Regions from separate parts of the Homo sapiens genome. Here region 2 is linked to region 1. Evidence: promoter capture Hi-C in 16 types of primary human blood cells and fetal thymus (Javierre and others, 2016). All regions are on one chromosome and are shown on one strand. Each heading gives the region's core, a stretch centred on a gene start or on the middle of the fragment in contact. The rest is flanking DNA. Distances are from core to core; before and after follow the strand shown.

Evidence for each region. Contacts are between HindIII fragments. The CHiCAGO score rates a contact against its expected background, and 5 or more counts as called.
Region 2: a contact is called between a fragment that was not itself captured here and the fragment with the promoter of VAC14 in region 1, in 5 of 17 cell types (naive CD8 T cells, total CD4 T cells, total B cells and 2 more). The highest score is 7.5, in naive CD8 T cells.

What each region holds. Positions count from the first base shown.
Region 1 is chr16:70,797,460-70,803,713 of GRCh38, forward strand. VAC14 (VAC14 component of PIKFYVE complex) reads right to left here and starts at 3,699. Exons shown (of 19, transcript NM_018052.5): 1 at 3,338-3,699. The coding sequence starts at 3,441. HYDIN (HYDIN axonemal central pair apparatus protein) reads right to left here. Exons shown (of 86, transcript NM_001270974.2): 86 at 4,625-6,254. RefSeq lists enhancers at 3,385-4,007, 3,675-3,734 and a silencer at 3,405-3,594. The HindIII fragment of the contact is 5,317 bases long and covers 1-4,549 here.
Region 2 is chr16:72,088,888-72,095,313 of GRCh38, forward strand. It overlaps TXNL4B (thioredoxin like 4B), which reads right to left and starts at 4,733. Exons shown (of 4, transcript NM_017853.3): 1 at 4,480-4,733; 2 at 1,731-1,899; 3 at 100-251. The coding sequence starts at 1,862. It overlaps DHX38 (DEAH-box helicase 38), which reads left to right and starts at 4,960. Exons shown (of 27, transcript NM_014003.4): 1 at 4,960-5,164. RefSeq lists enhancers at 4,506-4,835, 4,846-4,895, 4,956-5,255. The HindIII fragment of the contact is 817 bases long and covers 3,115-3,931 here.

The DNA.
Region 1 (6,254 bases), core at 2,449-4,948:
ATTCTCCCTACCAAAAAGTGGTAACAGCAGTACTGACAGATGACAACTATGTGATATACGTATGTTAGAAATAATTAGGGCAATTACATAACAATTCTCTCTCTATGTATACAGTTTGTAACAATTACAATGTGCCCACTACTACACTAAATACTTGATATGGTTTGGATCTGTGTCCCCACCAAATCTCTTGTTCAACTGTAGTTCCCAGTGTTGGAGATGGGGCCTGGTGGAGGTGGCTGGATCATGGGGGTGGATTTCTCCCATGATGATGAATGGCCTAGCACCATCTTCTTGGTGCTGTTCTTGTGATAGTGAGTTCTCAAGAGATCTGGTTGTTTGAAAGTGTGCAGCACCTCCCTGCTCACTCTCTTTTGCTCCTGCTCCCGCCATGTGGGACGCCTTGCTCCCTCTTTGCCCTCCATCATGATTGGAAGCATCCTGAGGCCCCGCCAGAAGCAGAAGCCGCTATGCTTTCTGTACAGCTTGCAGAACCGTGAGCCAAATAAATCTCTTTTCTTTATAAATTACCCAGTCTCAGGTATTTGTTTATAGCAGAGCAAGAACAGACTAACACAGCACTTTACAACATTAGCTCAAACAACTCTATGCATATTATTATTATGCTCTTTTTACAGATGAAGAAATTGAGGCACAGAGGTTAATTAGCTTGCTCAGGGTCACCTAGCCAGTAAATGGGAGCTTGAACCCCAGTTCCAGAGCCTGCTCTTAAACACCATGCCACGCAGCCTCTCAGGAAATAGGGTATCTTAAAGGGGCAACTTACCTAAGAACAGGACTAAGCACTTTCATTTAGGGAGCACATGAACTGACTCATTTACACTACATAGATAACTGCCAATATTCGGACTCTTCTTTTGTTGGGCATCTGCAGTCTGATTAATGAGAGATTAATTAATAGTCTGTGTTTGCTGAGGGTCACTTTGACCAGGCCAAATGAAGAATATATTAAAACATACAATATCCTATGTGTACCTGACACATAGAAAGTGCTCAGACAAGCAAAATGCTGGTGCTGGTGAAGCACAGATAAGTAAGTCAGTATCTATCTCTAAGCAATTTGTGAAGCATATGTTCTGAGGAAGGCATTGAACTAACCAGCCATTCTTCATTCTAAGCATGACTGGAGAAGGTTGGAAACAGATGAGAGGGTCTTTGAGGCCAGTGCTTCTCAAACTTTAATGTGCACACAAATCACCCAGGGATCTTGTTAAAATGCAGATTCTGATTCCATAGGTCTGGAGCAAAGCTGCAGAGCCTCTAACAAGCTCCCAGGTGATCCTGATGCTGCTGTCTGTAGGCCACGCTTTTGGGCAGCAAGGTCCTGAGCCTGCAATGTTATTTCCCCACCGAAAATGTACGGTCATTCATTTATTCGGACACCAGCTGTCAAGTGCTGCCAGGCTAAGTGCTAAGGATAAATAAAACAGATACATAAACAGAACTCTCTGCTCTTAAGGAGTTCACAGTCAAGGCACTGCTGAGTTTCTCTAAATTCCACAAATCAAGGGCAATGTCCAATACAAAATGAACTCGATCAAAGACAAAACCCTTACAGAACTGTGTGCAGAGTGAGAACAGATACACAGGTTGCGCTGGAAGCAACAATAATGTTGAGATGAATACCTCTCTCTTCAAGGACTCAACAGACGACTCAAGCTACAATAAAACCGGATATTCCTGAGAAGCAGAGTGGGTGAGGGACAAAACTAGGTGTCAAGGCAACTTCAAAGCCAACAAAACCCCATGGACACGGAACCATGCCTATATATCATTTCTGGGTCCCTCTATTCAGTATGGCAATGTGCAATAAGACTTGCTAGCATTCGTGAGAGTCAGGCATAAACAAAAAGCTATATAAAAGGAGCAGTCAAGAAAGTGGTGTCTGATGAGAGAAGCAGCTAGATGGTTGTGGACATACTGAGTATGAGAGCTGAATGGAGGCAGGGTGGGGGATTTCTTATCAAGGTCCGAACCCTTTAGTTTAGGAGGAAACTAAAATCCAAAGCAACATTTGATTTGGATTGCAAGCAGCAGTTGTCAACCGGGGCAATTTTGCTCCTTCAGGGGACATTTAGCAATGTCTGAAGACATTTTTGATTGTTACAACGGATGGAGTGCTACTGGCATCCAGTGGGAAGAGGTCAGAGACGCTGTTAAAAATCCTGCAAGGCACAGGACAGCCCACTACAACCAAAAATCATCTGCCCCAAAATGTGAATGGTGCAGAGGCTGAGAAACCCTGAGTTAAGGAATTTGCCCCAGGTTAACGAATGAATGTCACACCACGGAATAGATTAGAGCAGTCCAATAGAGCATTCTGCAATGATGGAAACAGTCTATAATCTGTGCTGCCCTATATAGCAGCCAATAGCTACATGTGGCTATTGAACACTTGAAATACGGGTAGTGTGACTGAGAAACTAAAGTTTAATCTTTAATAATTTAAATTTATAATAGCTACGCACGGCCAACGGCTACTCTACTGGACAGAACAGAAATACAATTCACCTTTTCTGACTCGCAGACTGGTATTCTTCCAGTTTCACAGCCTGCTTCTTTCCAATTTTCTGAAATCACTCACTCACTTGACTTTAACACTAAAATGTGACTGGGAAAAAACCCACAAAAGTAAAATAATACTGCAGAAAAAAAAATAAATAAAACATCCCCAGTTAAACTTTCGCTGTTTTGTACATTGGGAAATAAAGTAAAATATCAGATCATTGTTACACATACATGTAACAAGACTGCAGAAGCAAGAAAGGTCAAATTATTTCTACTTCCACTTGCAGGGAAGGGTGTTATAACACAGATAAAACAAAAAACTCTCTGAGCCTTGAGATCACGAGTTTTCCGACCTGATTTCTCTACTTGGTCACTAACAATCTCCTTCACTTCTCAGAAGCTGGGTAAGAAACCAGGCTGGTCAGCATCACCTGCAAATTCTCCGGCTTCTGACTTCTCTCTCACCACAGAGACAACTCTCTGATTTGCTGGTTTGGGTGGCACCGCACCGAAGACTCACCATGTGCCATGCACTGTGCAAAGCACTACCCATACATGATGTCACTTCATTCTCACTGCAGCCCTTTGTGGCACCGGGAGGTTAAAAAGCTGGGACCAAATCACACAGCCAGTCAGGAGTAAAGCAGGGACTCCCAGATATGGCTCCCAATCTGCTCTTAAACACTGCGCTAAGGTAAGGGCCTAAAACCTGGGAAAGTAACCCTGGCTGGGAAGGCGTGAGAAGTCCCCCTGGGGAGCAGAGCAGTCAGGGGCTGCATAGCCAGGGAGGGGTCCTGGCGGCTCTTACTTCTCGATCTCCAGCGCTGCCACCTTCCGCTTTTCGTACAGCTTGTCATTGAGGGCGCGCACGATGTTAGGCGTGAGCGGCGCGAAATCCTTCTCGGGGTTCATGGTGGCAGCTGGGGGAACCTCGCGACTCCTTAGCCCGCGGCTGCCGGGGCCGCGCCGGGGCCAGGGGAGTCTGCGGCTCCGCTCTGCCCCCGGCGCCGGCGCATGGACCACGCCGCTCTAGGCTTGCCTGCCACGCTCCGCCGCCTCGCCCTGGAACCCGGGCCCGGACCCCGCTCCAGCACACCTGACCCTGGCCGCTTAACAACTCCCGCCCGGCACTAGCGGGACTCACGAGACAGCGGCCATGTTACTCGAGTCACATGACTCTACAGCACTTCCGCCTTCCGTCGCGAGGGCCCGCCCCTCTCCAGCCACGCCCCCACCGCAGGCCGCAGGTGGATTGGCCACGCCCTCGGAAGGCTCCACCCACACTGCACACACTATCGCGCTGCGCGCCAGGTAGCTGGAGTGTGGTTTGAGACGTGCTTTAATGGGTGTGTAGCTCACGCCCAACTGATGGCACGTGGTGGGCTTCTGTAGACGTTCGTAAGACCGAATGGGTTCTTGGAGTCTGATTCACTTAACATAATTTATTCAATAGTCACCGAATTCACTAGTTCATTCAGTAGTTGGTCACTTACCAATTTCCTAGATGCAGACGTTTCCCTAACTGCAGTAACACTGTCATCACTTTCACCATATTCTAGCCACTTGTATTATCTATTTAATGTTTTCCTCAAATCAACTCACTTTAAAAAATACCTTAAATCTCTTTTAGCTTTGCTTATGCCCTAAAACCATGAGTTTGAATAGGTATATTTTTTCTAAGACACATCAAAATAAATTCTCAATTAAAAATGGCACTACCTGTCTACCACCTAAGATCTCAGGTACCACCAGTGTCTGTCACTCCACCATTTGGGGGTGTGTTTAACATGCTCTGATGCCTAGGAGGGCTGGTTACAGACAGAGAGAAAGGCCCCAGATCTGCTGAGTGCGGGTCTCTAGATAGGTCCCCTGGAAAGCAGCCCCTTCAGCTGCTTCGGGAATCACATTACATGGTGAGACAGAAATCCCAACTATGTGGCAAAATATTTAAAAGCAATTTATGGCCGGAGTGTGGTAAACATGCAGTTAACAGGGAGGTGCATCAGCCTTTCCTATCATAAGCTTTCAGAGTGAACAGGGACTTAGGACAAGGGCTAGATTACAGTGGAGCTCAAAGAATAACAGTTTCAGAATGCATGGTGATACTTTTCTTTAATGAATGAAAAGTGCATATATAGGCCTTATAACAGTCTTGAAAATGGAGTATTTTCCTCAACAGAAACAGGGACGCAATGAGTAAAGGGCAAAAGTAGGCAGAATTCTAGGATGACCTCCAATATTCCCACCCCTTCGTGTTCATGCCCTGTATTATGCCCTCTTTCAGCGTGAACAAGACTTGTAAATATGATGGGCTATGCATCACTCACATGATTATATTATGTAATATCGCAGAAGAGATTTTGCAGATGTAATTAAGGTCCCTAATCAGCAGACATTGAATTAATAAAAAGAGAGATTAACTTGAGTCGGCCTGACCGAATCAAGTGAGTACTTAAAAGAGATTAGAAGAAATTTGAACTGGAAGAGAGACTCTCCTGTAAGGAGTTTAGTCATATGGCCACAAAGGAATGAATTTTGCCAACACATTGAGGGTCCTTGGAAGCAGATCTTTCCCTAGTTGAGCCTCCTGATGAGGATGCAGCTGGCCAGCACCTTGATTTCAGCCTTGTGGAACCCTGAGCTGAGAATCCAGTTCACACTGGGCTCTCAACCCATGGAAACTGTGAGATAATAAATTTGTGTTGTTTTGCTCTCCTAGTTTTGTGGTAATTTGTTATGCAGCCATAGAAAATGAATACAAAGGCTAATCCAAAACTCGGCAAGTCATGGATATATCATGTCTAGAAAAATCCATAAAAAATGTATTCTCCTATACAGGTGGGGTTTTCATAGTTGTTAAAACCTTTGCTGACACAATCCTATGAATGAAGGTAGGTGCGCTAACAAGTAGTAGTAGTGCTGCCAAGGACATCTCCAAATGTCTTGCAAAGTTTGGTTTTAGGATTTTGATGATGGTTGATGAAAAACACTGAAAAAATGTAAATCAATGGGAATGATTTGGTTCTATTTCTCCAATGTGTGTGCATTTCCACGGGACGCATATCTAATATATTTCATGTTTCTTTTGCTTTTTGGTTTGGCTTTTTCTTAGAGGTGAACTGAATTTCCCAAGGGTAATGATACAGTTTTTAATAATTCAAACAATAAGGAATTTTTTTTTTACCAGAAGTATTCTTTTCTCCTGAAATTATATTCTGGCTCAGGTTGCTAAGTAACCAGTTTTTTATTCAAGGCCCAGACCAATGCCTACCTTTAGGTCAGAAGTTCCTAGAAAGAAGTGGTTCTTTTCTCTAATATCTTGAAAAATGCCAACTAGGTAAGATTATTTATGCATAATTGAGCTAGCAGTGGTGGTAAAAATAAAGCCCAAAGGCTACCCTTGCCTTCCACCCTTGTTCCTCTTCTCTGACCTGTGACCATTCCTGTTGAAACTCTTCTAGACTAGGGGATAACTGATGTGCCTGACTGCATACTAGTCATTATTTCACAGTTACAATTCATCTGCATCTGTGTGATGCTTGGTTGTTATGCTAGAACTTGTAATAGTTCTGTAACAACTATTCATAATAGCTATTACAAGTATGTAAAAGTTATGACATAACTTGTAGCAAGAGGCTGCTGATGACATTGTAAGAAATTGTACCAAAATCTTGAACTGTGCAAAGCAGTTTCTCCAACAGCAATGTAATTGTAGCTGGAGTTTC
Region 2 (6,426 bases), core at 2,273-4,772, 1.3 Mb after region 1:
CTCACAGAGCCAACATCACATGGAAATAGGCAAGCTACTGAAAATGCTTACCAAGGAAACTTACAAGGTTGCAATTAACTTCAGATCAACTGCACTTACCCATAATCCACTTTCATATGCTGCCCATTGAAGAAAAAGACAGTAGATGGAATATAACTGATGTCAAAATACTGTGTATAAACTGCAGTTTGGTCCACATCTACCAGGTATATAGCAGCCATTTTACTTAAGTCAGAAGAGGTCTTAGAAAGCTGCAAATGACGAGAGAGACAAAGGTTACAATATGAGAGGCAGCTTAATGTTTCTTCTGTGAAACTTGTTACTACAACAGAGTGTTTTGTTTGAAAAAACTCCTGGGCCAACAATGCAGCCCATGTGGCTCCCACATTAGACAAAGCATAACCCCATCCTCCAGAGTCTCATTCACTGCAACGGGGTTAGGAGGGAATCTTGGGGAAAACTGTATGAGGTTAGGAAGGGACCTTGGGGAAAACTGTGTGAGGTTAGAAGGGGACCTTGGGGAAAACTGTGTGAGTTTAGGAGGGTGACAGCATGGGAGTATTCCTGTCTATTCATTGTGGAGAGAGACCTAACCCAGAACTAAGACCTCTACCCGCCATTTCTACTGCTGCCATCCCGTGTTAAGAGCTGAGCATACAAATCCTTGGGGAAAACTGTGTGAATCTATTTCTTCCTTTAATTTCTTTCTTTGAATGCTTTTATAAAAGTAGCCCATGCTCATTTAAAACAACACAACTTAGAAATATGTTATGTGGATACTGAAATTCCCTAACGTCTCCTTCCTCCCAATCCTCCCAGAAATGAAAACCACGATAATTAGTAGCAGACACTTATATAACATTACTATGTGGTAACTGTCCTAAGTGCTTAACATTTGTTAACTCATTTAATCCTTACATCATTCTTATAAGGTATATGCTATCAGAGTCCCCATTTTATAGATAGGGAAACTGAGGCACAGGAAGGTAAAGTAATTTGCCCCAGGTCACACAGCTCCTGAGCAGTAGGGCTGGGGTTTGAACTTTGGCAGTGTGGCTTCAGTGTCTACATCACTGACCTCTGTGGTATTTCCTCCTGCTTATGACTGAGGGTAGAATCCTCTGGTCCTTTTTTCCCCAAGCTAACACATCACACCCTCATTGTAACCACGGAAATGAGGATTTGTACGCTCAGCTCTTACACGGGATGGTAGCAGTAGAAATGGCGGTAAGAGGTCTTAGTTCTGGGTTAGGTCTCTCTCTGCATCAGGCACATACTGGAGGCAGCACACTAGAAAAGATTATTTGCAGCTACAGAAAACTGAGTTCAAATCTCAACTCTGCAATATAGTGGATCTGCACCTGTGGGAAATTACTTGACCTCTCTGGTTTTTTTTTTCCTACTGGGAAATGGGGCTACTATTATCCCACTATTGCGAGCACTGAAAAGATAGTGTTCACAGATGCTTGTTAATAGTTTTCTGCTCTTCCATCACCTTGTTGGTGAAACAGCATTGACAGCTTCTAGTGGGTAAGGACATCCAAGACAGATTCAGCACACACAGATTTGGGGGCTTGGTTCAGGGCAGGCACACAATCAGCTCTTAGTGAACTAACAAATGAACAGCTATATACCCAACCCTGACTACTCCCTCTCATGTACTACTCAGATGCTGAAGTGAGAATATACAGATTATTAATAAAAACCAATTATTTTAGACATTCACTTACAATATCATCTAGCTGCAGACAGACAGGATCTTCATCTCTCCCAAACCTGAGAACCAACACCTTCTCAGCAGTACTTTTTATCGCCTGGTCTACTTCCTTTTTGCTAGTCAGCTTGGGCAGTAGGAAGCTCATCTTGAAATAACCCAAATGTGAATCCTCACTGTCACTCCTGAAATAAAGGTGCAATGTTTAAAGACAGTTTAGATTAAGTGCGTGAGCCCTCATTAAAAAAAATTAATTCACAGAGTAGCTAATGTATTCACATGGTATGAAAGAAACATCATAGAAAGGTAACACTGTGGAGTTTCCCTCTCTTTGTCCCTGCTCCTTGGAACCAGTTTTCATTGTTCCCTCCCCCGGGCCAGATAACTGCTTTCATTAGTTTCTCATGTATCTTTCAGAGTTTTGTTATGCATTCACCAAAAAATACAAATATGCGTTCCGATATTTTTTTTCTCTCTCTCCCCACCCCCAAAAGATAGCCTATTGTATCAGTGTTCCAGCAGGAAAGCGATGACACTCTCAACTTTGGTAATTTGAAGGCAGTTTAATTAAGGCAGGTGTAGAAAAACAATACGGTAAAGTGTACTACTTTGGGGCTAGTAACAGCGGGATGCTGTACCCATCCCTAGGCCATGGGAGGAAGAAGCCACGGTAGGAAGCAGTTATAAGAATTGTGTGGCAGAAAGAGGTGAGTGGAGAGGACAGTGTATAGGAGGGCAGCCTGCTGTTAGGTGTTGCAGCCACTCTCCTCCCTCCCTCTGACCTTTGCTCATGCAACCACCGGCTGACTCCAACTGGAACCAGAGGGCAGGGGCCTGTTGAGGCAGGCAAACCTCCCTGTCCCAGAGCAGTCTAGAGGAGGATGAAGAATGGCTGTGGAGGGACCAATGGCAGATGTTCAGCACACACACTTTATCTACTCTTCAGCACTTTTCATTATTTCAAACCTAACCTATGAAGATTGCCCCATATCTCTATATAGAGAACATCCATATTCTCTGTCATGGCAGCATATTATTTCTTGCATGTGTTACACTTTTTAAACAGTCCTTTATTGTATACTTTATATTATTACAAGTCCTGGCTTAAAGATTCTTCGTGTGCACCTTACTAGGTGCACCTCATTACACGGCAAACAGATCAATTAAGAGTGTGTGTGAAAACTACAATACCATAAACAAATAATAAAATACTGAGGTACAAGGGACCTAATACAACCCCGTCATTTTACAAACTAGCTTGCTTACAGTTGCACTTTCTACTACAATGACAAGGACTAGAATACAGGCCACCAAATTTCTAGTCCAGGGGTCCTTCTACTACAATAATCTATTTTCATGATTGGTAGAAATTTCATTTTTGAGAAACTCTTTGACAAAGAAGCTTAGTTTTGTGGTCATCTATAAGAGACTCCATTGAGATGGTCGGTATTTTGAATTCAGTTCCAAATATGAAAAGGGAGGATTTCTTTTCCTATTTTTTTTGTCACAAGTCACATTTTAAGATACGAATTAGGCCAGGCTCACCCCTGTAATCCCAGCACTTTGGGAGGCCAAGGAGGGTGGATCACCTATGGCCAGGAATTCGAGACCAGCCTGGCCAACATGGTGAAACCCCGTCTCTACTAAAAATACAAAAAATTAGCCGGGCGTGGTGGCAGATGCCACCTGTAATCCAAGCTACTCAGGAGGCTGAGGCAGGAGAATTGCTTGAACCCTGGAGGCGGAGGTTGCAGTGAGCTAGGATCGCTCCACTGCACTCCAGCCTGGGCAAGGCAACAAGAGCGAAGCTCCGTCTCCAAAAAAAAAAAAAGGAATTATTTAACTAAAATTCACATAGGAAATAAGATTGTTCCAGCTATAGGTCATACTTTAAACAGGGACATTGATGGCCCAAAGGGACGTCATCAGATGTGAGCAGCAGAACAAATTACCAATGAAAGGGAAGGTCAAAGAGAAGACGGATCTGTCCCACTAGAATTCAAACAAACAGCAGTTCCTCCGTGTTACTGATCGAAAGGAGAAAGTAAGGGGAGAACAAAGTTGTTAGTGGTGAGGCTAGGGGTGCAACTGGACAAACGTTGGAAGCAGGAGAGGAAAACTGAGACCACATCTAAGAAAATGTCCATAGTAAATGATACCCACAGAGAATTCCCAAAAGAAGACGTACAAATGGACAGTAAATAAACTAAAAAGTTAAGCTTTACCAGTAAGCAAAGAAAAGCAAATTAAAACATATGTTTACAAAGTCACTGAATTGGCAAAAATTAAACAAGATAGTGGTAGGGGCAGGCACAGGGAGTTCCTGCTGGAATGCAGACACAAAACCTTTCTGGAAAGAAAACTGACATACTCTTTGACCAATAACTCCACTGCTTTCCTCTCTCCCTCTCTTTTTCTGAGGCGGGGTTTCGCTATGTTGCCCAGGCTGGTCTCAACTCCCCAGGCTCAAGCAATCCTCCCGCCTCAGCCTCCCGAGTAGCTGGAACCTCAGGCGCGCGCCACAACTGCAGAAACACCAAAAAAAGAAAAAAAGCTTGAACTCACTTTTGTACAGAATCTTACTACAATGTATTCCAGAAAAACAACTGGAAATCAGTGGTCATCTCTGCGTGTGAACGCATGGGTGATTTTTATTTACAGCCGGGCGCGCATCTCCATTTTCCAAAATATCCGATATACATATTTAAAGTCACCTGTGTTGCGCTGCTCCTGGCCCACAAGCGCTAAGGGACCCCAGCACTTACCTTACTCGTCCACGCCGCCTCACTCCCTTTCACTTTGTGGCTGTCAGCAACCACTTCTCGGAAGAGCCCGGGCGCGGACAGCTCCTTTCATCAGCCCCAAGCCGGACAGGACCCTAAGACCAAGTCACCCAGGGGCTGTTGCCTAGCAACCCTCGTGGCCCCGCTAGCGGGAAGGAAACCGAACAGAAAACGCACAAGCGCAGAAAAGAAACTCCTGGCCGTCGGTCGGCCCCCGCTCAACAGCCCAATAAACGGAAGAGCTTCTAGTCACCGCCCACCTTGCTCGGCTCTGACCGGAAGCTAGGCGTCACCTCCGCCCGTATTAAAGATGGTCGACCTTTTTCCCCTCCTTTTCCTGCCCCCAGACTAGAGGCGGGATGTAGTCTCTTAGGCTAAGAGTGATTGGTCACAAGGAGACTCGGAAGTGTCTGATCAGAGCCCCAGAGGAGGCCTTGAGAGCCTGTTGGCGTACCGTTCCACACTTGGATCCAGGAATCGGGCGTGTTCCAGGCTGCTCTCTATGGTAGCTTTGGGCGGATAGAGGGGGCGCGCAAAGTATTAAGGGACAATAATGGCCGCTTTCAAGGTGTGGATTTTGGCTCCTTGAGCCTGTCTGAGCGAGGGGTGGCAGCGCCGGCGCCCCAGAATCCGGGACAGAAGGGTCCCAAGAGTCGCGCTTGGTGAGGTGAGAGTCCCTTCTTCCTTCCTGGCCTGCCCTTCTGTAATCATGGCGGCTCTAGGCGGCGGATATTGGTCCCCTGCTCAGGTCCGGGCCCCAGTTTGGGGAGTTCCTCTGTCGTCCCTGTCACCCACCTTGCCTTACTCACCTCAGGGATGCTGCATCCGTCCTGGCCGCCTTGGCCTTCCTCCTTGCTCTGGTCAAATCCTGCTGCCTGGAGCGGCCTCGCTGAGATCCAGGGATGCTGCCTGGAGTGGCCTTGGTCCCTCTCCCAGGCCTCCGCTTTAACCCACCCCAGACTGTCACCGAGCCCGAGTAGGACTCCTTGTGTCTTCCTCTGCTCTCTCACAGTGTCATTTATACCAGGCAATCTGGTGGGCGATCTCTTCTACTAGAATGTCAGCTCCAGGTGGGCGGGGATTTTTGTCTTGTTCTCTGTTGCTATCGCCGAGAACAGCAATTGGCTCAGGGACACCCTCAGTGAATAATTGTTGAATGAATGAATCCAGGTTCTTTCTTCCCTGGCTTTCTCGTACGCCTTGTAGTTTCTTTGCCATTAATCCTTCTCAAGAATCTTGCTCTTTAGCTCCTTATTTGTTCGTCTCAGCAGCTAATGAAGTTCTCTCTGGCTGTCTCCTTGTCCTGTGTTGCTGGAATCTTCCCTTGCTGTCTCCAGAAATGTTTGGGTTCCTGTCCTCCTTTAATAAGTTTAAATTAATTCATTTTTTAATTTATCAAACGCTTATTTTGCTAGACATTGAGCTACAGCAGTCAACAACACATCCAGTGTTCTCTCAACTGCGTAGAATGGCAGTCCAGGGTACCTTTCCTAGTTTAGACAACTATTGAGTAGAGCCTGTATATCTTTACCTTCTTGTGTGGATTTCCTCACATGCGCACAGATGTCACCAATATGCAGCTTTCTTTTTTTCTGTTCTGCCTGATGGCATTTTCAAAATGTAACTCTTGTTTCTGCATTAATATTATGTGTCCAGTCTGTTTGGCAATACTCTGTAGAGCTGTGCATTTAATTAGAGTTTGGTAAACAATTCTGGATTCTGGTGGCATCTCCTTTGCTTTGCTAACTTGTTGGAATGAGAGGAATTATCCAAGCATCCAGAACTGATATATGTTGATGAGTGGCAGATGTGTAGTGAGAGGTAAAGAGGAGCTTGTTCCAACTTGAGTGCCAGAAGTCTTGTAGCCACTTAAATACTTCTCAGTAACACCTTTTCCTAACCTGGTGTTTCTCATAAATATTTTTGGTG